2 separate regions of the Homo sapiens genome follow, and region 1 is linked to region 2. Evidence: promoter capture Hi-C in human tissues and cell types (Jung and others, 2019). All regions are on one chromosome and are shown on one strand. The core of a region is centred on a gene start or on the middle of the fragment in contact, and the rest is flanking DNA. Distances in the headings are between cores, read along the strand shown.

The links. Contacts are between HindIII fragments. The study calls those that stand out against the background at their distance.
Region 1: a fragment that was not itself captured here is called in contact with the fragment with the promoter of TP53I3 in region 2 in 1 of the 25 tissues and cell types used here (neural progenitor cells).

Annotation. Positions count from the first base shown.
Region 1 is chr2:24,471,434-24,477,178 of GRCh38, reverse strand. No RefSeq gene overlaps it. Among named protein-coding and RNA genes, the nearest start is that of NCOA1, 17 kb to the left of the region's middle. The HindIII fragment of the contact is 7,742 bases long and covers 1-5,703 here.
Region 2 is chr2:24,081,100-24,086,884 of GRCh38, reverse strand. It overlaps TP53I3 (tumor protein p53 inducible protein 3), which reads left to right and starts at 2,051. Exons shown (of 5, transcript NM_004881.5): 1 at 2,051-2,696; 2 at 3,733-4,000. The coding sequence starts at 2,559. It also overlaps a transcript of FAM228B not described here. RefSeq lists enhancers at 1,266-1,766, 2,514-2,563, 2,714-2,813, 3,409-4,339 and a silencer at 2,324-2,503. The HindIII fragment of the contact is 16,390 bases long and covers 1-5,785 here.

The sequences.
Region 1 (5,745 bases), core at 583-3,082, 390 kb before region 2:
GGTAATTTAGAAAAATGAGTTAAGTAGCACTGTAGGAGCAGAGTTAGAAAGGATAACATATCCAGACATGATTTTTTTTTTTTTTTTGAGATGGAGTCTCGCTCTTGTTGCCCAGGCTGGAGTGCAATGGCTTGATCTCGGCTCACTGCAACCTCCGCCTCCTGGGTTCAAGCAATTCTCCTGCCTCAGCCTCCCGAGTAGCTGGGATTACAGGCCTGTGCCACCACGCCCGGCTAATTTTTTGTATTTTTAGTAGAAACAGGGTTTCACTATGTTAGCCAGGCTGGTCTCAAACTCCTGACCTCAGATGACCTGCCTGCCTCGGCCTCCCAAAGTGCTGGGATTACAGGCGTGAGCCACCTTGACTGGCCCAAGCCTTTTTTTTTTTTTTTTTTTTTTTGTGACAGAGTCTCAGTCTGTCGCCCAGGCTGGAGTGCAGTGGCGCCATCTTGGCTCACTGCAACCTTTGCCTCCTGGGTTCAAGTGGTTCTCCTGCCTCAGCCTCCTGAGTAGCTGGGACTACAGGTGCGTCCCAAGACTGGCAAATTTTGTGCCCGTGTTAGCCAGGGTGGTCTTGATCTCCTGAACTCGTGATCCACCCGCCACGGCTTCCCAAAGTGCTGGGATTACAGGCGTGAGCCACCGTGCCCAGCTGACATGATTTTTAAAGTTATAAAAATCAATTTGAAAACACCAAGTTTGGCTTTTCTTTGCTCACCATAATACCTAACAGGCAGTTCTTGGTTAATATTAGTTAATGTTAAATGTGAAATGAATGGCCTCTGCAAAGTGATTGCTTTTGTTCTAACACTAAGAATATCTCCTAGAATAAAGTAATCCATAAATATTGTGGTTTATACATCAAATTTCTATGAGTTTGACCAATATGAGTCTCTTCTTTGCAACCTAATAATTCTTGGATGAACGAATAGCACTGGGTTTCCAAACTTTCCAGGTTGACGGTCTGATGCTGGATTAATTATTTGCTGGAACGCAATATGAATAGATCCTTGCTATGATGCAAAAATTAATCTATTGAAAGGATATAGGACAGGTCAGAGAATAAAAAGATTTGTTGGATAATTTGGCCTCAAGAGGCCAGACCCAAAGAAGCTTCAAGGATCGTAGCAGCAGGGACTTGTAACTGTCTTTCTATGGCACTGCTGTCAGATAATGTAGCTTCATCACCTTCTGTGTCAGTGTTTCAGCTGGTTTCAGCAACCAGCTCGAAACTTAAATTCCTGGGGGAAAAAAGTGTTATTGGCCAAACAAAGATCAAACATCAACCTCTATGTTGGGAGTAGACAGCAGGGTTTTGTGACTGACAAACCTGTCAAAACCACGTATTGGATGTCCAGCAGCAGCCTCCAAGGAAGGAATTCTAGGAAGACAAAAAATAATTGATATGCATTCTGGGCATTTCCATTTAGATATTTACCCTCAAAGGAGGATGAACAGGTGATTAGATAAGATGCTGCATAAGGGCCTTTCCACCTCTGAGAAGTCTACACATTAGAATTGATATTTATCATTCCAGAGACCAAATCCTACAGATAAAGATGAATTCGTGGACTTGGAGCTTATCTACACGGGTCTTATTTCCTAGAAGTTTTCAATATTTTTTCAATATGTCTGCATGATCTGGTGATTTAAATTTTTCTGATTACAGCATAAAATAGTATAGAATTTAGAATACATATAGAAAAATACACAGATCATAAGTGCCGAGCTCAAAGAATTGTCACAAAGTGAATAATATGTGTAATCAGAACCCAGATTGAGAAATAAAATCTGACCAGCAACCCAGAACATCCCCTGATGCCCCCACTTCCCCCAACAAAGGTAACTGCTAAACTAACTTCTATCTCCATCAGTAAGTTTTGCCTTGTTTGGGGCTTTATATAAGTTGAATTGTATATTTTGTGCTCTTTTGTGCCTGGTTTCTTTCATTCAACATTACGTTTTATGAGATTCACCCATGATGCTACAAGTAATTTGTTTTTTCTCTTTGCTGTGTGGTATTTTGTTTTATGAGTACGGTGCTGCTTATCCATTCCACTGTTAATGAACATTCTTTCCTGTTTTTGACTATTACTAATAGTGCTGCTATGAACATTCTCATACATGTTTTTTTGTGAATATATCCGCTCATTTCTGCTGGATATATATCAAGCCTGGGTATATATCAAGGAGTGGAACTGCTAGTTCAAAGAGTATGTGTTATATAGGTTCAGCATTCATAGGTAGTACTAACAGTTATTCAAAGTGGTTGTACAGGTTTGTGTTTTTATTTATTTATTTTTATTTTATTATTATTATTATTTTTGAGACAGAGTCACGCTCTGTCGCCCAGGCTAGAGTGCAGTGGCACGATCTCGGCTCACTGCAACCTCTGTCTCCTGGGTTCAAGCGATTCTCCTGCCTCAACCGCCTGAGTAGGTGGGACTACAGGTGCGAGCTACCACACTCAGCTAATTTTTCTTTTTCCTTTTTTTTTTTTTTTTTTTTGTATTTTTAGTAGAGACAGGGTTTCGCCATGTTGGCCAGGCTGGTCTTGAACTCCTGACCTCAACTGATCCACCCGCCTCAGCCTCCCAAAGTGCTGGAGTGCAGTGGCACGATCTCGGCCTCCTGGGTTCAAGCGATTCTCCTGCCTCAGCCTCCTGAGTAGCTGAGACTACAAGCATCTGCCACCACGCCCAGCTAATTTTTGTATTTTTAGTAGAGACGGGGTTTCACCATATTGGCCAGGCTGGTCTTGAACTCATGACCTTGTGATCTGCCCACCTCAGCCTCCTAAAGTGCTGGGATTACCAGGCATGAGCCACCGAGCCCGGCCCAGATTTATGTTTTTAATAGCAGTGCGTACAAATTCCAGTTGTTCCACATCCTTGACAATTCTTTATTTTAACCAGTCTGGTAGGTGTGCAATATCTTATTGTGATGTTAATTTAGATTCCTCAGATGACTCATGAAGTGGAGTATCTTTTCATATGTTTAAGGGCCATTTGAAATGCTCTTTTTTGAGGTGCCCGTCAAAATCTTTTGCCCACCTTCTGATTGTATTGTCTCTTTTTCTTATTGATCTGTAGGGGTTCTTTATATATTCTGGACAAAAATCCTTCTTGGGATATATATATTACATATGTCTTCTCTCATTATGTGGTTTTCCTTTTTACTCTCTTAATCTTATCATTTGATGATCTTAAGTTCTTAAAATTAATGTTTTTTAGTTTTGTTGGCTTTTCTTTTCTTCTTCTTCTTTTTTTTTTTTTTTTTTGGCATGGCCTTTCTCTGTTGCCCAGGCTGGAGTACAGTGACATAATACAGTGACATAATCATAGCTCCCTGCAGCCTTGAACATCTTGGCTCAAGCTATCCTCCTGCTTCAGCCTTCCAAGTAGCTGGGACTATAGTCATGCACCACCACATCCAGCTAATTTTAGAATTTTTTTGTAGAGATGGGGATCTCACTACTCACTATGTTGCCCAGGCTGGGCTCAAACAATCCTCCCACCTAAGCCTCCCAATGTTCTGTGATTACAGGTGTGAGCCACCACACCCTGCCTGGCTTTTCCTTTAGGCTTAGTGCTCTTAGTGTACTGCTTGAAAAATTTTAGACAGAGCAATTATAGTAGTTGGAAAAATAGTATAGGTCCATACAAAACTAAAAATAAATTAAGAACAAAAAACATGGCATTCATTAACTTCAAGAAAAAAATCAAACTAGAAACAAGACATAATCACAATATACTACTTGGTTCAACAGTGACAATTATTTACACAATTATAATACAATCCTTGACTACTGATTTATCCAAAAATTATGATAACTTTTTGAGGTCTCTGTGGGGGCCCAATAAGTAACAACCATCTTCCCAACCTGAGTTCTGAACAAATGGAAAAATAATGCAAAAGAGTGGCAGAGAGAGGTTAAATGTCACCTTTATTATAATCGATTAGAGGCCAAGTTGCAGAGTGTGGCATCAAGTGTTTTTGCAAAGTGGGATGGTTAAGACAAAACCAGACATAGATGGAATTACCCCCTCAGTCACATACGCCATGCTGGATCAAGGCGGGCCTTCTCACATGAGTCCTTCATGGTGCCCATGCAGCTGGCAGGAGCCCCTTTGGGTCAGCAGATGATTGTTTGACATCCAACACCACTAGATTTTCAAGGGAGTAGTTTAGTTTAAAAAGGAAGAAACTTTATCTATAATTCTTCTGGTAAAATGAAAATCACTCTAGGCAGGTATTCATGTAGGAGTATTTTTTTTATTTCAGCTTTTATTTTAGATACGAGGGGGTACATGTACAGGTTTGTTACGTGGGTATATGGAACCCAGATAGGAGCATAGTACCCAATGGGTAGTTTTTCAATCCATGCCCCACCGCCTCCCCTCCCCCTTTAGTAGCCTGCAGTGTCTATTGCTCCCATGTTTATGTCTGTGGGAGCTCAATGTTTAGCTCCCACTTGTAAGTGAGAACATGCAGTATTTGGTTTTCTGTTCTTGCATTAATTTGCTTAGATTATGGCCACCAGCTCCATCTATGCTGCTGCAAAGGACATGATCTCATTCTTTTTTATGGCTGCATAGTATTCCATCATGTATCTCTACCATATATATTTTTTTTATCCAACCCACCATTGATGGGCCCCTAGGTTGATCCCATGCCTTTACTATGTATGAAATGTGGCAATGTACATACAAGCACATGTGTCTTTTTGGTATACTGATCTATTTTAGGAGTATGTTTTCATTAAGATGTACCTAATGCTATAAAAAATAAACTCCTGGCCAGGCGCAGTGGCTCATGCCTGTAATCCCAGCAATTTGGGAGGCTGAGGCGGGCAGATCACCTGAGGTCTGGAGTTTGAGACCAGCCTGACCAACATGGAGAAACCCCGTCACTACTAAAAATACAAAATTAGCTGGGCGTGGTGGAGCGTGCCTGTAAACCCAGCTACTAGGGAGGCTGAGGCGGGAGAATCCCTTGAACCTGGGAGGCAGAGGTTGCAGTGCGCCAAGATCACACCATCGCACTCCAGCCTGGGCAACAAGAGCGAAACTCCGTCTCAAAAAAAAAAAAAAAACTCTCCTAAATTTATGTCTCAACCACAATATAAATTGAGTTATTAATGATATAACAGGCCAAGTCACGTGTTCCTCATCAGTGGAGGCAGCTCTGCCATTTTCACAGTTGACTTCCAAGGTTGCACTAGTCCTTTCAGTATACAGAAACATGGGAGGGAGGTTCTTACGGGCCAGGCATAGAAGTGCCACTCATTTCCACTCATGTTCGACTGGCGAGAGACCTAACTGCAAGGGAAGCTGGGAAATGTAGTCTAGCTATGAGTGCAGGAAGAAGAGGAGCCTACAAATTTTGGTGAACAGCTGTCTCTGCCACTGGATGTAAGGTTCATGTGGGCAGGGGCTTTTTTGTTCCTTATTGCCTCTTGTGAGTGACTCATAGTGGGCATTCGATAAATGTTTGTTGAATAAATAATGTAGTGGGAAGAACATGGGCATTGAAATAAAAAAGACCAGAATCCTAACCCGAGCTCTGCCACTTCGTAATTGTATTAATTTAGACAAGTTACTTAAATTTCTCAAGGCTCAATTTGTCATGTATAACGGAGATGAAAATATACTTGTGATCTGCTTCCCAGGCCATACTAGCCAGATGTGAGAATAGGTAGTAGCTGAAATTATGCCGACAAAAATAATAATAGTGGCTGGGCTC
Region 2 (5,785 bases), core at 802-3,301:
CTCTGTTCTAGGATATTTATTTGGTTCAAACCTTTCCTCGATTTTGGACAGATGTGTATCCGGATGATGTGTCTCTGAATCCTTATACATCCTCAGACATGTTTTTTGCCCTAACAAGTGAATTATATCTTAATGGGGTATATTGAGTTACAGTGCTTTTCTTCTAGTCAATAGACGCTAGTCTACTCTCTTCTAGCTTCCAGATTGCAGATAGAAACTTGCTGGGCACAGTGGCTCATACTTGTAATCCTAGCACTTTGGGAGGCTGAGGCAGGAGGATTGCTTGAGTCCAGGAGTTTGAGACCAGCCTGGGCAACATAATGAGACCCCTACACTACAAAAAAGAGAGAGAGAGAAAGAGGGGGTGGGGAAGGAGGGAAGGAAGGAAGGAGGGAGGGAGGGAGAGAAGGAAGCCATTTTTTTTAACCAATTGTGAGTAACTTATTCTTTCCACACTTGTTAGAACCTGAAATTTTATAAAATATAGGCATGCATTTTTGTTCTTATGAATCCATCCTTTAGTGAATGTTTTCAATCCGTATAATCTGGTAGAATTTAGGAAAACTGTATTCTTTTATTTGGTTAACTATTGAATCTTCTTCATCCATTCCTCTTCCTCCTTCTAAAATTCCTTTTTTTTTTTTTTTTTTGAGACGGAGTCTCACTCTGTCGTCCAGGCTGGAGTGCAGTGGTGCGATCTCGGCTCACTGCAAGCTCCCCCTCCCGGGTTCACGCCATTCTCCTGCCTCAGCCTCCCGAATAGCTGGGACTACAGGCGCCCGCCACCACGCCCGGCTAATTTTTTGTATTTTTAGTAGAGACGGGGTTTCACCGTGTTAGCCAGGATGGTCTCGATCTCCTGACCTCGTGATCCGCCCGCCTTGGCCTCCCAAAGTTCTGGGATTACAGGCGTGAGCCACCGCGCCCGGCCTAAAATTCCTGTTATTCTCATAGCAGGGTCTCCTGAATTTTTCCTTAAGTCCCATCATTTTATTATTTCCATCTCTATAGGCTTTTGCTCTGTTGTGTTAAAGAAATAATTATTCAATGATACTTGTTAAAGCACATTAAGGAAGACTTTATTTAGCACCATCGCTACAGGTTTAGGGACCACTGCAATGAGTTCTTGCAGTGGAGGAGACAGGTTGGGATCAACTCTGAATGCATCACGGACAAGTGGGAATGTATAGCCAAGGAGCAGTGTAGGGGGTCAGTGGATGGAAAATTGGTAAGAGGCATCAGGGGTAAGGGGGATTCTATCTAAACTGACCTAACAGGATTCTCACTGAAGACAGGCCAGGGTGGTCGGATATCACTTGGGGGATGGTGGAGGATGAGATATTGAGGGTGATCAGATGTCAAGGATGGGAGGTTCTTACTAAAACAGGAATTTACAAGGAGTGCTACGGATATGTAGTGGGGGGAGGCCAGGGATGCTGCTAAACATCCTACGATGCACAGGACGATCTCCTACAATAACGAACTAGCTAGTCCAAAATGTCAATAGCGCCGAGATTGAGAAACCTTCATGTAGCTTACGGATACAGCTTTTACCCAATCGCCAGCATCCTTCTCCTGGGGCTGAACCTCTCCCCCAGGACTGTCAGGAGGAGGCGAGTGATAAGGATCCCAGGACTGCGTTTTGCCTTCCTTCCCCACCCCCACTCCCAACGGCTCCTTTCTCTTCTCTTAGCAGCACCCAGCTTGCCCACCCATGCTCAAGATGGGCGGGATGCCAGCCTGTTACATAAATGTGCCAAAAGCCTGGCCATGCCTGGAAAATGGACCAATCCGCCCGCCAAGAGGTTGGGTCTCGTTCCCTAGAGAGAAGGAAGTTTCCTCTCCTTGAAGTGAGAGCTAGAATCGCACTTTCTGTCAAGCTGAGAGAAAGACTCTTTTCCAGAGGCTAAAAGGACAAGAAAATCTGATTTGCTTGCTTCTAACTTTGCGTTTTAAAGGGGGAAGGAGGAAAGGAAAGAGGGGGAGGGTGGTTCTGCTTAGCCCCACCCCTCCGGCTACCCCAGGTCCAGCCGTCCATTCCGGTGGAGGCAGAGGCAGTCCTGGGGCTCTGGGGCTCGGGCTTTGTCACCGGGACCCGCAGGAGCCAGAACCACTCGGCGCCGCCTGGTGCATGGGAGGGGAGCCGGGCCAGGAGTAAGTAACTCATACGGGCGCCGGGGACCCGGGTCGGGCTGGGGGCTTCCAACTCAGAGGGAGTGTGATTTGCCTGATCCTCTTCGGCGTTGTCCTGCTCTGCCGCATCCAGCCCTGTACCGCCATCCCACTTCCCGCCGTTCCCATCTGTGTTCCGGGTGGGATCGGTCTGGAGGCGGCCGAGGACTTCCCAGGCAGGAGCTCGGGGCGGAGGCCGGGTCCGCGGCAGACCAGGGCAGCGAGGCGCTGGCCGGCAGGGGGCGCTGCGGTGCCAGCCTGAGGCTGGGCTGCTCCGCGAGGATACAGCGGCCCCTGCCCTGTCCTGTCCTGCCCTGCCCTGTCCTGTCCTGCCCTGCCCTGCCCTGTCCTGTCCTGCCCTGCCCTGCCCTGTGTCCTCAGACAATATGTTAGCCGTGCACTTTGACAAGCCGGGAGGACCGGAAAACCTCTACGTGAAGGAGGTGGCCAAGCCGAGCCCGGGGGAGGGTGAAGTCCTCCTGAAGGTGGCGGCCAGCGCCCTGAACCGGGCGGACTTAATGCAGGTACCCAGGGCTCAGCCGCGCCGGGGCGGGCGGGACTCCAGAGCCTCCCTCTCAACAGCACTCAGTGGACATTGACCAGACGTGAAGGCGTGCACCGCTCCACACCCAGCAGGCAGCTGCGCTGGGGCTTCCCAGACCTAAACCCAGGGCGCCCTCTTTGTTCATGCAAAACAAGGGGGAGTACTTGTAAAGCAGAATCCACCCCGAGCTAATCCATAGCCACTCAGGCCTCCAGATGAGGGCGGAACTAACATTGTTGTGGGGTGTGGGCACACTTACTCCCCAGGCTACCCTGTTCGCCATCTTAATTCTACAGATAAGGAAACTGAAGTTCAGTGAGGTTAAGCAGTACGCCCAAGGCCGTGACACTAGCAATCAGAAGAGCTGGGATTCAAGCTGAGGTCTTTGTGGCTCCAAAGACCTCTTAACTCTTTCCACTCTGAGAGTCCCGGAGCTGACAGCGGGCAGTACTCTTAAGAATTTTCTTCTGTCTGATGCTGATTTACTGACCTGGGCCAGCTGCATTGGTTGGGGTCATTCAGAAATGTGCATCAGAATCCCCCGGGGCACAAAAGAAACGTGATGGGGGCCCAGGCACGTGTACTTTGAAATACTCCTCAGGTGGTTCTGCCACACACTCCTGGTTAAGTCCCTCTGCTCTACAGCTTCTGAGGACTGGGGTGAGTGAGCACAGAGCCTAGCGCTTGATGCATGGGAACCATCGTCAAGGTTCCTAATCCCACTACTATTATTTCCCGTCTGGGACTCAGTTTCTCCATCTGTAAAGCAAGGGGTTCAGATGAGGTAAATAGCTAAGGACTCTACCAGTTATAACATCCACTGATCATGTGACCTCCAGTTTATTTGCATAAAACTAATGGCCTCTCCTTTTTCTTCTCCTTACTTACAAAAACCTGACTTCATTCTGAAATTTATTTTTGAAAAAAAAAAGAGGGGATCTTGGAAGGGGGGCCAGGGGTAGTGACATACAGATTTCTGATCATGCTCACCACTTAGTGCACTTCTTTCTCTGCAGAGACAAGGCCAGTATGACCCACCTCCAGGAGCCAGCAACATTTTGGGACTTGAGGCATCTGGACATGTGGCAGAGCTGGGGCCTGGCTGCCAGGGACACTGGAAGATCGGGGACACAGCCATGGCTCTGCTCCCCGGTGGGGGCCAGGCTCAGTACGTCACTGTCCCCGAAGGGCTCCTCATGCCTATCCCAGAGGGATTGACCCTGACCCAGGCTGCAGCCATCCCAGAGGCCTGGCTCACCGCCTTCCAGCTGTTACATCTTGTGGGTGAGGAGGCCTCCATGCTCACTCCACACAATGTGGCTCAACACCTTCATAAATCAGCCAACTTGAATCCCAGCAATCCCCCAGGGCACTCCCAGGCCTTCCTGTATCACCTGTATTGTCAGGTCCTCAAACCATGTTAGAAGGGTTTAATGTTGAGGCTGAGAATCATGGTTAGCAGATAGAGGGTCTGGATAACACTAGATAGGAGGCCTATGTACATGTTAACACCGGACGCCCAGCAGAAGTCCCAGCTTCTTAGAATCATACTGAGCTTCTCTCTGGGGTCCCAGTGCAACAGAAGGGACCAATTGACTCATTTATTCCTCCTCAATCCCACAGAGGCCAGTCAAGAACTCACATAAGGGAATCTAAGAAGACTTGGTCCTTGCCTTTAGACAGTGCAGTGTAACTGAGAAGGCAACATATGCATAAGATCAGATGACCATAGAGTTTAGAAGGATAGCCCTGTCTATGATAGAAGCTGGAGATGAGTAAAGATGGTGTGGACAAGGGTAGTCAGAAGGCTTTTTGGAAGGCTTTGAAGGGTGGGTAGACTTGTGAAGGACATAAGGCATGCCAAGGTGGCCTAAGAAAGAGTATCAGCCAGGCAAGGTGGCTCACACCTATAATCGTAGCACTTTGGAAGACAGATCACGAGCCCAGGAGTTCAAGATCAGCCTGGGCAACATGGCGAAACCCTGTTTCTACAAAAAATACAAAAATTAACCAGGCATGATGGTGCATGCCTGTTGTCTCAGTTACTCAGGAGGCTGAGTTGGGAGGATCACCTGAGCCCAGGAAGGTCAAGGCTGCAGTGAGCCATGATCATGCCACTGCACTCCAGCCTGGGCAGTAGAGTGAGACTCTGTCTCAAAGAAAAAGAAAGAGTAGGCTGGGCGTGGTGGCTCACGCCTGTAATCCCAGCACTTTGGGCGGCTGAGGTGGGTGGATCATGAGGTCAGGAGATCGAGACCATCCTGGCTAACACGGTGAAACTTCATCTCTACTAAAAATACAAAAAATTAGCTGGGCGTGGTGGTGGGCACCTGTAGTCCCAGCTACTCAGGAAGCTGAGGCAAGAGAATGGCATGAACGCAGGGGGGGTGGGGCAGAGCTTGCAGTGAGCCAAGATTGCGCCACTGCACTCCAGCCTGGGTGACAGAGTGAGACTCCGTCTCAAAAAAAAAAAAAAAACAGTATCAAGGTGAGACCAGCCACTGCACTCAGTAGTGAAGGATGACTATTGTGATTTGTGAAAAATGAGGCTGGAGCCAGATCATGGTGTCCTTGAATATCAAGCTGTCTGGACTCAATGCAAAAGCCAATGGAGAAGCACTTTACATTTTGAGGAGGAAGTAACATAATGCAAGTGCCATCTTAGGAAGAGGAGCCTGGTGGCTGTGTGTTGCCTGGATCAGGAAGACCAGCTGGAGGCCAGTTTCAGACTCTAGAAGGACTGGCTTTCGGTGGTGACCATGGGAATGGTAGTTGTTCTTACTTATTCAGGTGTAGGTCAGAGATGTGCATTTTGGTGTTATAGGTAAAATAGAGATTATGGATGTGGCTGCTTATAGCCCTGTTTCAAAAGGCTGTTTTCCACTTTAGCCAGAGGCAATAAGACAGAAAAGGTCGTCAATATGCTCTTTTTCTTTCTCCAAAGAACAAGATGGTTTGTATTTGAGTCACAGCGTCCCACCCCCACCAGCCCACCCCCACCCCACCAAATAAAAAAGGAAAAGCAAAAGATTGATTTGGCATTTGGTGCAACGGCCAGGTGATCTTGAT